2 separate regions of the Homo sapiens genome follow, and region 2 is linked to region 1. The links are contacts of gene promoters, found by promoter capture Hi-C in blood cells and fetal thymus (Javierre and others, 2016). All regions are on one chromosome and are shown on one strand. The core of a region is centred on a gene start or on the middle of the fragment in contact, and the rest is flanking DNA. Distances in the headings are between cores, read along the strand shown.

Region 1 (5,317 bases), core at 2,158-4,657:
GACAGTGTGGACAGAGAAAAGGAACCAGGACCAGTCCCTGGGCAACCCCATGATTAGGAGTAAGAAGAAAAGCAGGAAACAGTGGGGCCAGAGGAGCTGAGAGGGGTGTTGTTTTGAGGAGAGGGAGTGGTCATTTGTTAGGAATGCTGCTGAGAGAGGTGAAGTGAGGTGAGGCTGAGATCTGGCAACCCCCTGGTCACCCAAGACCCTGGCAGTTTTGGTGCAGAGGTGAGGCAGAAGCAAGACTGTAGAGTATGGAGAGTGAACAAATGGCAGGAGAAAGTGAATGGAGCCAGTGGGTTTGGATGTATCTTCTGAGGTGTTTTCAGGTGAAGAAGAGCAAAGAAGTGAAACAGGAGAGGGATGTAGGAGGGAGGGAGATCTCCTTTTTAAGATGAGAGCAACTAAAGCTATGCTATCCAATATGGTGGCCACTAGCTACATGTGGCTATTTAAATTTAGATTAAGTTAAAAATTCAGGTCCTCAGTCTCAACAACCACATTTCAAGTGTCCAATAACCACATGTGCTGGTGGCTGCCACGCAGATACAGAACATTTCCAGCAGTGCAGAAAGTTCTGTTGGTCAGATGTATGCTCCTATACTGATGGAGAAGACCCCGGAGAGAAAGGTGGTTAGGAAGGAGAGACAATCTCTGAAAAGATGGGAGGAGGAAGGGATGGAATGGAGGCTACCCCAGAAGAAGGGGCCCCTAGTAGGAAGAGATGAGGGACAGGTCATCCAGCACAGCAGGCAGGTAGGAGAAGGTAGCAGCAGCTGCATACTAGACTAGGTGGTGGCAAAATGAAGACATTCCCTTGGTCAAAGGTGCCTATCTTGTCAATTGAAAGGGAAGCCACGGGGTGTGCCTAGGAAGGGGAGAGGTCTGGAAAGGGGAATAGGTATGAAATAGTTGCCTTAGGGAGTAAGAACACAAACTCACTGGAGAGGCCACACTTAACACAGAACACTTCGCAGAAGAGAAGTGGAAAATGGTAGTGAACATTTGAGGGAGGAGAAGCATCTCAAGTTGGGGGGAGGTAAACTCAGATAGTTTGTTTTTTTTTCCCTTAAATCCTAGTCCTGTCTACACAGCAGAGCCATGACGAAGCTGTAGGATCGCAGCAAGGTTTTCTACTAGCTGCCCTTTCAAAAAGTTCTTCCCCCTCCATCCTACACAACTCTCAGAAAGGATGACATTGGTTCTATTTTCAGTTAAAACGGCTCCCTCCACCCTCCTGTCTGAATTGCTTCCCCAGCCCTTAGCTGCATCTCAATTTACGACCATGGCTTGTATTTTCACATAAATAATAGAAGACATGGATCTATTAAAAATGGCAGAGGTAGGTAGGAGTTACAAACCAGCCTTTATCTACGAGAAGTGAGTAATATATACATTTATCGAATGATGTTAAAATTACATGAAAGACATATTCTGTGTTTAAACAAAATCCCCAAGCGTCTCCTCCCTGCTTCTCCACAAACAAAAATTATTTTTTGACATTTTCTTTAAGGTTTTATGAGTGAGTAAACATTTTCATTTCCACAGAACTATTTGATCTCAACCACAGAGTTTCAGTACTTGTTTTTGATCACACAAGTACGGTGGATTGGTTTTGTGTTGGCCAGGGGGAGGGAGGGCCAGAAAGAGAGTTAAAATTACCGGATCCCTTTTATCTTCCATTCTGAGACCTTACATTTGCCAACTCCTTTTTCCCTGTACATTTTTTTAAAGTATGAAATCTGAGAACCTCAAAGGCTCTCACTGCTCAAAGATCAGCCTTTTCACAGTCCACTGAGGACTCACTGGAAATGTTACAGAAATACGGCCTGCCAACTTGGGTGCCTCTGGGTAAAATCACCCACAGTTGCTGTTCATGTGAAATCTCCTAAATGTAAGCACACTTCTTCAGCCCTCGCTGCTCATCTCGCCTCCTCCTCTCTGTCACCCACCTCTGTCATGTCCAGTTCATGTTGGCCCACAGCCCTCACACTTCCATTCCTCAAAATTCCTCTTGGCCTGCCTCTGATCCCCTCACACACTCTGCAGCTCCCATGGCTAAGACTCACCAGGCAAAATGACTCCAGAAACTTAACCTGGAGTACGGTGCAAGAAAGCCACTGACCCAGGGGGGCTGAGCCAGGGCACCAGGACAATCTTGCTCCTTCCACTGCACTCTTGCCTTCCCAGGCCCCACCCATCCCAAACAGGAAAGCAAGATCTCTAGACCCTTGGAGCAGAAGCATTTGAGTCCTGCGAAGGGCTGTTGGAAGAATGCTGGGTTCAGCAGCAGGGAACAGAGAGATTTAGGAATTCTGGTTCACTTACCCGCCTCCATGCCCACGTCAGGCAGTGGCAAGGCCACCCCTGCTACACAAATGCTCATCAACTACACAGCCTGGGGGAAGTCACCGAACCACTTTGTGCCTCAGTTTCCTCATCTGTAAAGTGGACATAAGTGTCCCCTGAATACGTATGGCAAACCGTCAACGTGTGCCCAAATAGAGTGAGCAGATGTAAGGAGTTATTGTGCTATTAGCACAGTGGCTCCCAGACTCACAGAGCCTACTGCTCAGAGAGACGCCGAGGGGAAAGCTTAAATTACTTTATATACTCAGAAGCATTAGTCACTTCGACAGAGTATTTCAACTTCCCTCCTGAGCATCTACTCAGTTGTTTCAAAGACTGAAGCCTCACCTAGGTTCCTTATAGACTTCCATCATCTTCAGCATCTCAAAGCAGATCCAAAGTCCACTATTCCTACGCTGGAGGTTTATTATTATTTGATTATTTCCAGGAAAACTTCGATTTCCATTTTGCTTGTAATAAATCCAAACGTGGAGAACGACAAACTGCTTAGACTCACACAGGCCCTGGAGTTGACTGCGCCCAGGGGCGAAGAGACCGCGGAATGGCCGAGGCAGGAGGCCGGCCAGGGCACCGGTCCCCGTCAGGTGCCCCCGTGCCCGGGCTGTATGGGAGGGGAAGGGCCACGGGCTCCGCGCCCAGGCCAGGGTGCCCCTGCTGGGTGTCCGCGTGCCCCGGCGGAGGGCGCGGGTCAGGTGGCCCCAGACTCCCGGGCGCAGAGTGTGCGCTCGCTCCGGCTTGGGGAGGCGGGGGCCGGCCCGCCGGGAGGCTCCGAGCCCGGTTACGCCAGCCGCGGCCCCGCAGTCCCTCCGGAGGGGCGCGCGGAGAGCGCGCGGCGCGGGCTCACTCACCCCATCTCCGGCGCTGCTCCGGCGGCCGCTCCGACGGGGCCTCTCGCGCTCGCTCTCCGCCCGCTCGGCAGCCGCTCCCCGCGCGGCACATGCGGCGGCCCGTGCGCGCCCGGCTCAGCCCCGGCGCCGCTCCATTCCGCGGGGCTGCGCGGCTGCCACTGCTGCCACTGCCGCCACCGCCGCCAGGCGCGGGCGGGCGGGGGCTGGGCGGCCGCGCTGGGGCGGTGCCCGCCCCGCCCTCCCCAGCCGCTACCCCCGCCCGGCTCCTTACGTAACCTCGTGGCCCCCGGGCCGCGGCAGCGAGCCAAGAGGCGGGGGGCGCAGCACTGTGTGCACCGTCCCCCGCGCAGCCGCGCAGTCGCCGCTTTTCTCCCGGGCCACCCAGTCCTCGGTGCCGGCCCCGCGTTGGCGCGCCCCCGCCCCACGCCGACCCGGGGCCCTGGCGCAGTGCCATCAACATCCTGCCTGATGGACTTAAAGTCCCATTCACACCTGGCGGGGACTTTAGGGCTACCTTTACTTTGCAGATAAGGGAACCGAGGCCTGGGGAGGGTAAGTGATTTGCCCAAGGTCACACATTCAGATTAGAGTTCGTTCGGGTCTCCAGAGTCTGAGATGGGCATAGCTGTGCTCCTCCTTAAAGCCCACCTTCATCTTCCTGCCAGTTGCCCGGCCGAGTGGCCTTAAGGTACCCGCCACCGTGAAATTTCGGAAGCCAGCCTGGCAGAGAAGAGCCTACAGGCCGCGGCAGATGCTCTGGGCTCTTTCCTGGATAAAAATGAGATGAGGGCTCCCACTTGAAGGGGCAGTTTTAAGGCGGCTTCATCAAGCTTGGTTTTATCCTTAGAGCGAGGGGAATTAGGATGGCAAAAGTAGAACTTGAAGAAGAGCAGGCTCTCTTCGTCGCCTTTCTACCTATCAGGTCCTGAGTTTCTACCAAAGGCTGGCACTGGGACTAACCTAACCTTCATCCCCCGGGACTTCCACGGGATCATCTTCTGCTGGGAACACACCGCCCACATAAGCCTGGCATCTCAGGACAGTAAAAAAGTCAAGGGACAGGTCGGGCGCGGTGGCTCACGCCTGTAATCCCAGCACTTTGGGAGGCCGAGGCGGGCGAATCACGAGGTCTGGAGATCGAGGCCATCCTGGCTAACACGGTGAAACCCCGTCTCTACTAAAAATACACACACACAAAAAAAATTAGCCGGGCGTGGAGACAGGCGCCTGTAGTCCCAGCTACTCCGGAGGCTGACGCACAAGAATCGCGTGAACCTGGAAGGCGGATCTTGTAGTGAGCCGAGATCGCACCACTGCACTCCAGCCTGGGCAACAGAGCGAGACTCCGTCTCAAAAAATAAATAAATTAATTAATTAAATACATAAATAGCCGGGTGTGGTGGCGTGCTCCTGTAGTCCCAGCTACTCCCAGCTACTCGGGAGGCTTGATGCAGGAGAATCGCTTGAACCCAGGAGGCAGGGGTTGCAGCGAGCCGAGATCATGCCACTGCACTCTAGCCTGGTGAAAAGAGCCAGACTGTCTCAAAAAAATAAATAAATAAATACAAAATAAGTTTGTAAAAAATAAAATAATCTTGGGAGTTTCCAAATCCTCCATGCATAGTAATCAGCAATATCAGGAAAGTGAGCTTGTAGAACACTGAACAAGTCATTTATCAGGTAATACCTGAGGATTCTGAAGTGTTCGAATAACTTCAAAGGCAAGCCACTGAAATCAGAGTTTTTCATTTTTATTTTATTTTTATTATTTTTTTTTTGAGACGGAGTCTCACTCTGCTCACCCAGGCTAGAGTGCAGTGGCAGTGGCGTGATCTCGGCTCACTGCAACCCCCACCTCCCAGATTCAAGCGATTCTACTGCCTCAGCCTCCCCAGTAGCTGCGACTGCAGGCGCATGCCACCACGCCCAGTTTTTTTTTTTTTTTGTATTTTTAGTAGAGACAGGGTTTCACCATGTTTCGATCTCCTGACCTCGTGATCCACCCGCCTCGGCCTCCCAAAGGGCTGGGACTACAGGCATGAGCCACCGTGCCTGGCCGAGTTTTTCATTTTTTTAAACTACAATCCACAGTAAGAAAT
Region 2 (5,266 bases), core at 600-3,099, 160 kb after region 1:
TGATCTGCCTGCTTCAGCCTCCCAAAGTGCTGGGATTACAGACTTGAGCCACCATGCCCAGCCTGAATCATTGTCTTAAACTTAGTGGTCACTTCTATGCTTCCTTGGCCACTCAGTTACTGGCTTTGCTCCCACTGCCCATGTGGGATGTGGGTTTGATTCTGGGCAGCCACTTGTAGGGGAGTGGAGGATGGGTGGAGTTGGCCTGCTAGAATCTTCTGTGACTGAGCCGGCAGTGACCATCATTCTCCACTCCTGTGATGAGTGTTCCCTTGATGAGAGTACTTAGGCAGGGATGGGGAGAGCTGCGAACACAGGTGGAGGTCCAGCTGGGTGTGTAGAAGGGGTATTCTGTTAGTCTATCTCGATAATTGTCCACAGCATCTTCTGGAAAACATGAAAAACATTCCATTATTATTAGCTGATGCCAAGCTTGTAGTAATTGTCTCCTGAGCTATTGCTTTTTAAACTGCTGCTTTCTTTGCTCTAGTGTATGCAGTTTTTGGATTTACCAGCGTGGTGAACCTCATCATAGGACTGGAGCAAGATGGAATCATTGACGGGTTCATGACACACTACTTGAGAGAGGTATGGGATCACTTAGTGATTATGAGGTTTCAACCAAAAGGCCACAACCCAGATCACATTACTCAGAGACAGAAATCCTCTCATTTAGTGTGAACAGGTACGCTACGCAGGCTTTCATTTCCTATAATAGCCTTAGGTCGCTTAGTCACATGGAAAGTGGAGCAGAAAGGACGGTTAGATCACGAGAGGCAATTCTCTCCAACATTCAGCTCTCACGGCTTCTCTCACTCATGACCGCACACATGACCTGCTTTTCCCCTTTATCTGTATTTAATATAAATAAGGTACCTTAAATGGATTTAGTATTTATGTGTCTGTTAATACATGACTATCTCAGAAACCCCAAGTCAGTCTTAAATTTGTAAAGTACCCAACACAGAGGCACTTGATGAAGTCATTTGATTGTGATGGCTTGCACTCTCCACCATGCTGCCCAAATCATAGCTTTGATACTACCTGGTACTCGAGAGAGCTAGTCCTATTTTCTTATTTTATGGTGGGCTGAACCCAGCCCCAGAGAGGTTAAGTGACTTATTCAAGGTGACACAGGAAATGAGGAAAAGGGCTCAAAGCAGATTCTTCATCCATGTTCAGATAATGGGGAGCTTTGTATGTACGCTGTGGGAGTTTGGGTTTTATCCTGTCTGTGAGGGAAGATTTTAAGTCAGTGAAGAATACAGGCAGCTCTGGGAAGGATGGGCTTGCAGGGAAGGGTCCGTGCCATGAGCTGGGGCACCAGTCAGGAGGCTTCCTCGGGACCAGCAGGGGCATAAACGTGGCTGGATGGAGGCAGCGCATGGGAAGTAGAGAGAGGGATGAACTTTAGAGAATCGGAGTGGCTGGAATGAATAAGACTTGGGGACAAATTGGGAGTGATGGGAAGGATGAGGCCTAAGACAGTGTCCTGATTCCTGCTTTGGAATTTGGAAGAATGCTGCTGTTTTTACACCAGAGAGGGATGACAGGAGGAATTTATTTCTGCAGACATTTGTTGAAGGGGACTCTGTGGTCAGAAGACCTGCTCCCTGCCCCCTGGGAGCTCCCTGCCTGAAAGGGTGGGGAGATGGAATTGTCCCAGGCACAGTGAGAGACTCACTCCAGGCACAGAAGTACTCAGAGGAGGAATTAAGTCTGGGTGCAGTCGGGGAAGGCTTATTGAGTTGGTGACACTGCTGTAGCATTTTAAAAATGGTCATGGCAGTGGAAGATGGACATTTCCAGATGGACCAGGGAGGTAGGGGGAATTCCGGAGAGAAGGGACAGCTTGGGCAAAGGCTTGGAGAGGAGAAAGAGCATGTGCCTCTCCCTGGGGCACCAATCTGCAAGGATGAGGCTGAGTTTCTATGGGGAGGTGGAGTTTCAGATGCTGGCAGGGCTTTGCAGGTCTTGAGCTCTGAGGAGCAGTCCTGGAAGAGAGAGTCACGGGCCATCGGAGTGCAGTTGGTACCTGAATGTCTGAGAGGAGAAGGGCTTGCCTATGAGAAGGTAGAGAGAGAAAAGGGCTGAGCTTGGGACTTTAGAGACCATGGCCAGAAGAAGAGAAGCCCCTGAAGTGGACCATGGGGGGCAGGCCAAGAGGCAGAAGGAAAACCTGGAGAGTGGGGGCCATGGAGCCCAGAGGAGGGAGGTTTTAGGAAGGAGGCGGCTGACGAGAGGGCTGGAGGCTGAGTTGGCAAGGGTGGTAAGCATTGGGGCAGACGGGGTATCAGAAGGGGGACTGGGGTGTAACTGTGGTGGCAAGGTCTGCAGGGCCAGGCTCTGGGGACCCAGCTGTGATAGAGAGGAGATGGGGCTTGGTCCAGCAGGCTGTGACAAGTTTTGGGGAGTTTTAGAGTAGAGGAACAACATGCCAAGAGCCAGGCCTTGAGAATCTTTATCTGGCAGGAGGAGTGTCATGGGTTGGAAGGAGGGGACAAAGGTAGGGAGACCATTTGGGAACATAGCTGTGGTCCAGTGAGGGACACTGAGGGCTAGACCTAATGCTGTGAAGAAGAGGGAGAATTGCCGGGGTGACATCGTAGCAATAAAGTTGATAGATTTGCTGAGAGACTGCATAGGAGAATGAGGAATGAAAAAATGACCATGTGGTTTTGACCTTGGTAAGCCGAATGGTTTCACCATTAATATAGAGAGGCCATGGCTGGCCTGGTGGCTCATGCCTGTAATCTCAGTGCTTTGGAAGACAAAGGCGGGAGGATCGCTTGACGCCAGGAGTTGAGACTGCAGTGAGCAATGATCACCACTGCACTCTAGACCGGGTGACAGAGTGAGACCCTGTCTCTGTACGTACACACACACACACACACACACACACACACACACATACAGAGAGAGCAAGAGAGAGAGAGGCAAGATGGAAGGCTGGTTGAGGGGAGAAGCTGATGAATTAAGAGTTCAGGCGAGTTGAAAGGACCTGTGGCCTGTGCACCATGCAGTTAAAGATGCTCATCAAGCTACCAGGAGAGGCCAGCACTGGCTCAGAGAGCCAGGTGTGTTAGCAATGGAAGTCTGAAACCATAAATCGGATGTATTCTTCAGTCAGAGCAAGTCCAAGAGAAGGGACGTGGGCCTGGCATGGGTGTAGAAGCAGAACCTTGATTCTGTTTCCTGCTTCTCTGATTTTAATTTGATTTGATCTGTGGGAGAGATGACAGAGCAGTCCTTGCCCCAGGGGAGCATGAAGCTTAAGAGAAAGCCCTGCTTGCTTGGCTGATTGATGGGCTGGTTGATCTGCACTCTTCCTTGTTGTAGAAAGGACTTAAGGCATCTTACAGCGTGAAACAAGCCAGGACAGCATGAACGTGGGAGAAAGAGGAAAGGAAAACAAGGTGGGGCCAAAACAACAGTAAAAATGCACGGAAAATTGATGACAGTGATTTTCTAGAAGCCACCTGGAAATGTAACCACCTAGAAAAGGGAAATGTAGTTCGTCATATAATCTTGTGTTCATAACATTAACATTTGCCCAGGAGAAGTATGGCTCTTCTTGGTCTCTGCTAGGTATACTAGCTACGTGACCTTAGGAAAGTCTTGTAATCTCAGAGCATCTGTTTCCTCATCTGTAAAATGGACTCAATCCTGTCCATCCCACTGGGTTGTTGGGAAGGTAGAAGGAGGGGTTGGGTGTGAAGCTCCGAGTTCGGTGCCTGCCTGCCTATGTGTCAGTATGTGGGGAATGAGTGTTGTGCCATGCCCAGCCCAGCAAGCCACGGGATCAGCATGAATTATTAAGGCCAGCCACTGGTTCTGGAAAGCAGGGTCATCCCTGGCCACCTCTCTGGTCACTGCCAAGCACCTTGTGTCAAAGATTTGGCTTGGTCTCCATGAGTTTGCCATACAGCCAGGATTGCCTATCATGCCATCTGCCTTCGCATCACAGTACAAACCTATGTTGATGCATCATGGGCCAATTGGCCAGGCATTCTCTAATTCCATCCTCTGTGGCCAGACCCTGGTTTTGGCAGCTCCAGCGTAAAGTTGTATTTTCATGTTCCTACCAATTTTGAAGAAATAGTTTCATCTTAGCAGATGAACACAAGTTAGTTCTGCTGTTTTATTTTACTTGCAATACAGGTCTGATGTTCTGCATTTACAGGTCTTATTTAAAGTGGACTTCTTTTTAATGCTTTCTTTAGGGTGAACCGTATCTGAACACCGCATATGGGCACATGATCTGCTACTGGGATGGCTCTGCTCATTATCTGATGTACCTGGTGATGGTGGCAGCCATAGCATGGGAGTAAGTCAGTTCACCTGGTGTGTGCCTTTGCCACCTTAGCAACCGATAAGCGGGTATGTAAGGAAACGTTATGCATAGAGGCAAATACACAAGCAGGTATACTGGACATGAATATAAGTTCCATGGGTGCACGTCAGACGTGGCTTTATCCTCCTTGTACCACTGCCTTTTGAATATGTCCTTCTGAATTGCTCCCTAGCATGGTGACAGCTCGGGCAGACCCTTTAAGCTTTCTGATTATGTTGTCTTACAAGAATAATTTTTATTTTCAGCAATTAAAGCTAAGCACATCTTAAACTTCATTTCAAAACTTCAAAATTTCCAAACAGCAATCTCATTTCGGTTCAAAGCTTCTGTCCTTCCCCAGATCAGGCACAGCTCTGCGGCTTGGCTCGCACTAAGGCTTGGCTACATGGCTTGTCCGTTCACTCCTCCTGTCTCACTCTGCGGCTGGCCCCTTGGCAGTGGATGTGTATGTACAAGGGATTAAAGGAACAGGAGCCGAGTCTGATGTGAAAGGTGCTGGTTTTTGGGTATTGGTACCCCCATCATGATATGCTAGCTTGGTCTTGGGAGGCACACATGTGAGTTCTTTAGAGACCCCAACCACAGGAGCTTCTGCATTGCACTAATCCCTGAAGTGAACGACGTGCTCTTGGGCTGAATTTCTGCCCATGGTGGCACACCCACAGCTTTTTTTCTGCTGGGGCCCCTGTAACCCAGAAGGTACACCCTTTGGGGAGGGGTCTTTTCAAAACATTTCAAGTCCGGCCATCTTCTCAGGCCTCCACTTGCTTCTGGGTTACAGAAAGTCATGCATTCTTGCCCCATACAAGGTTGAAATGTAGTTTACCCAAGTATCTCCCTCACTCCCAACATGCACTCAAGGTCAGCTCCAGCTAATTCTTTTTTTTTTTTTTTTTTTTTGAGACAGGCTGG

What was found. The method cuts DNA at HindIII sites, captures the fragments that hold promoters and counts their contacts. A CHiCAGO score of 5 or more calls a contact.
Region 2: a fragment that was not itself captured here is called in contact with the fragment with the promoter of HOMER2 in region 1 in 1 of 17 cell types (neutrophils); the score reaches 5.5 in neutrophils.

The regions. Positions count from the first base shown.
Region 1 is chr15:82,949,313-82,954,629 of GRCh38, forward strand. HOMER2 (homer scaffold protein 2) reads right to left here and starts at 3,408. Exons shown (of 9, transcript NM_004839.4): 1 at 3,219-3,408. The coding sequence starts at 3,223. RefSeq lists an enhancer at 2,658-3,158. The HindIII fragment of the contact is 1,453 bases long and covers 2,594-4,046 here.
Region 2 is chr15:83,115,355-83,120,620 of GRCh38, forward strand. TM6SF1 (transmembrane 6 superfamily member 1) reads left to right here. Exons shown (of 10, transcript NM_023003.5): 3 at 491-588; 4 at 4,224-4,327. It also overlaps a transcript of HDGFL3 not described here. Among named protein-coding and RNA genes, the nearest start is that of TM6SF1, 10 kb to the left of the region's middle. The HindIII fragment of the contact is 2,839 bases long and covers 431-3,269 here.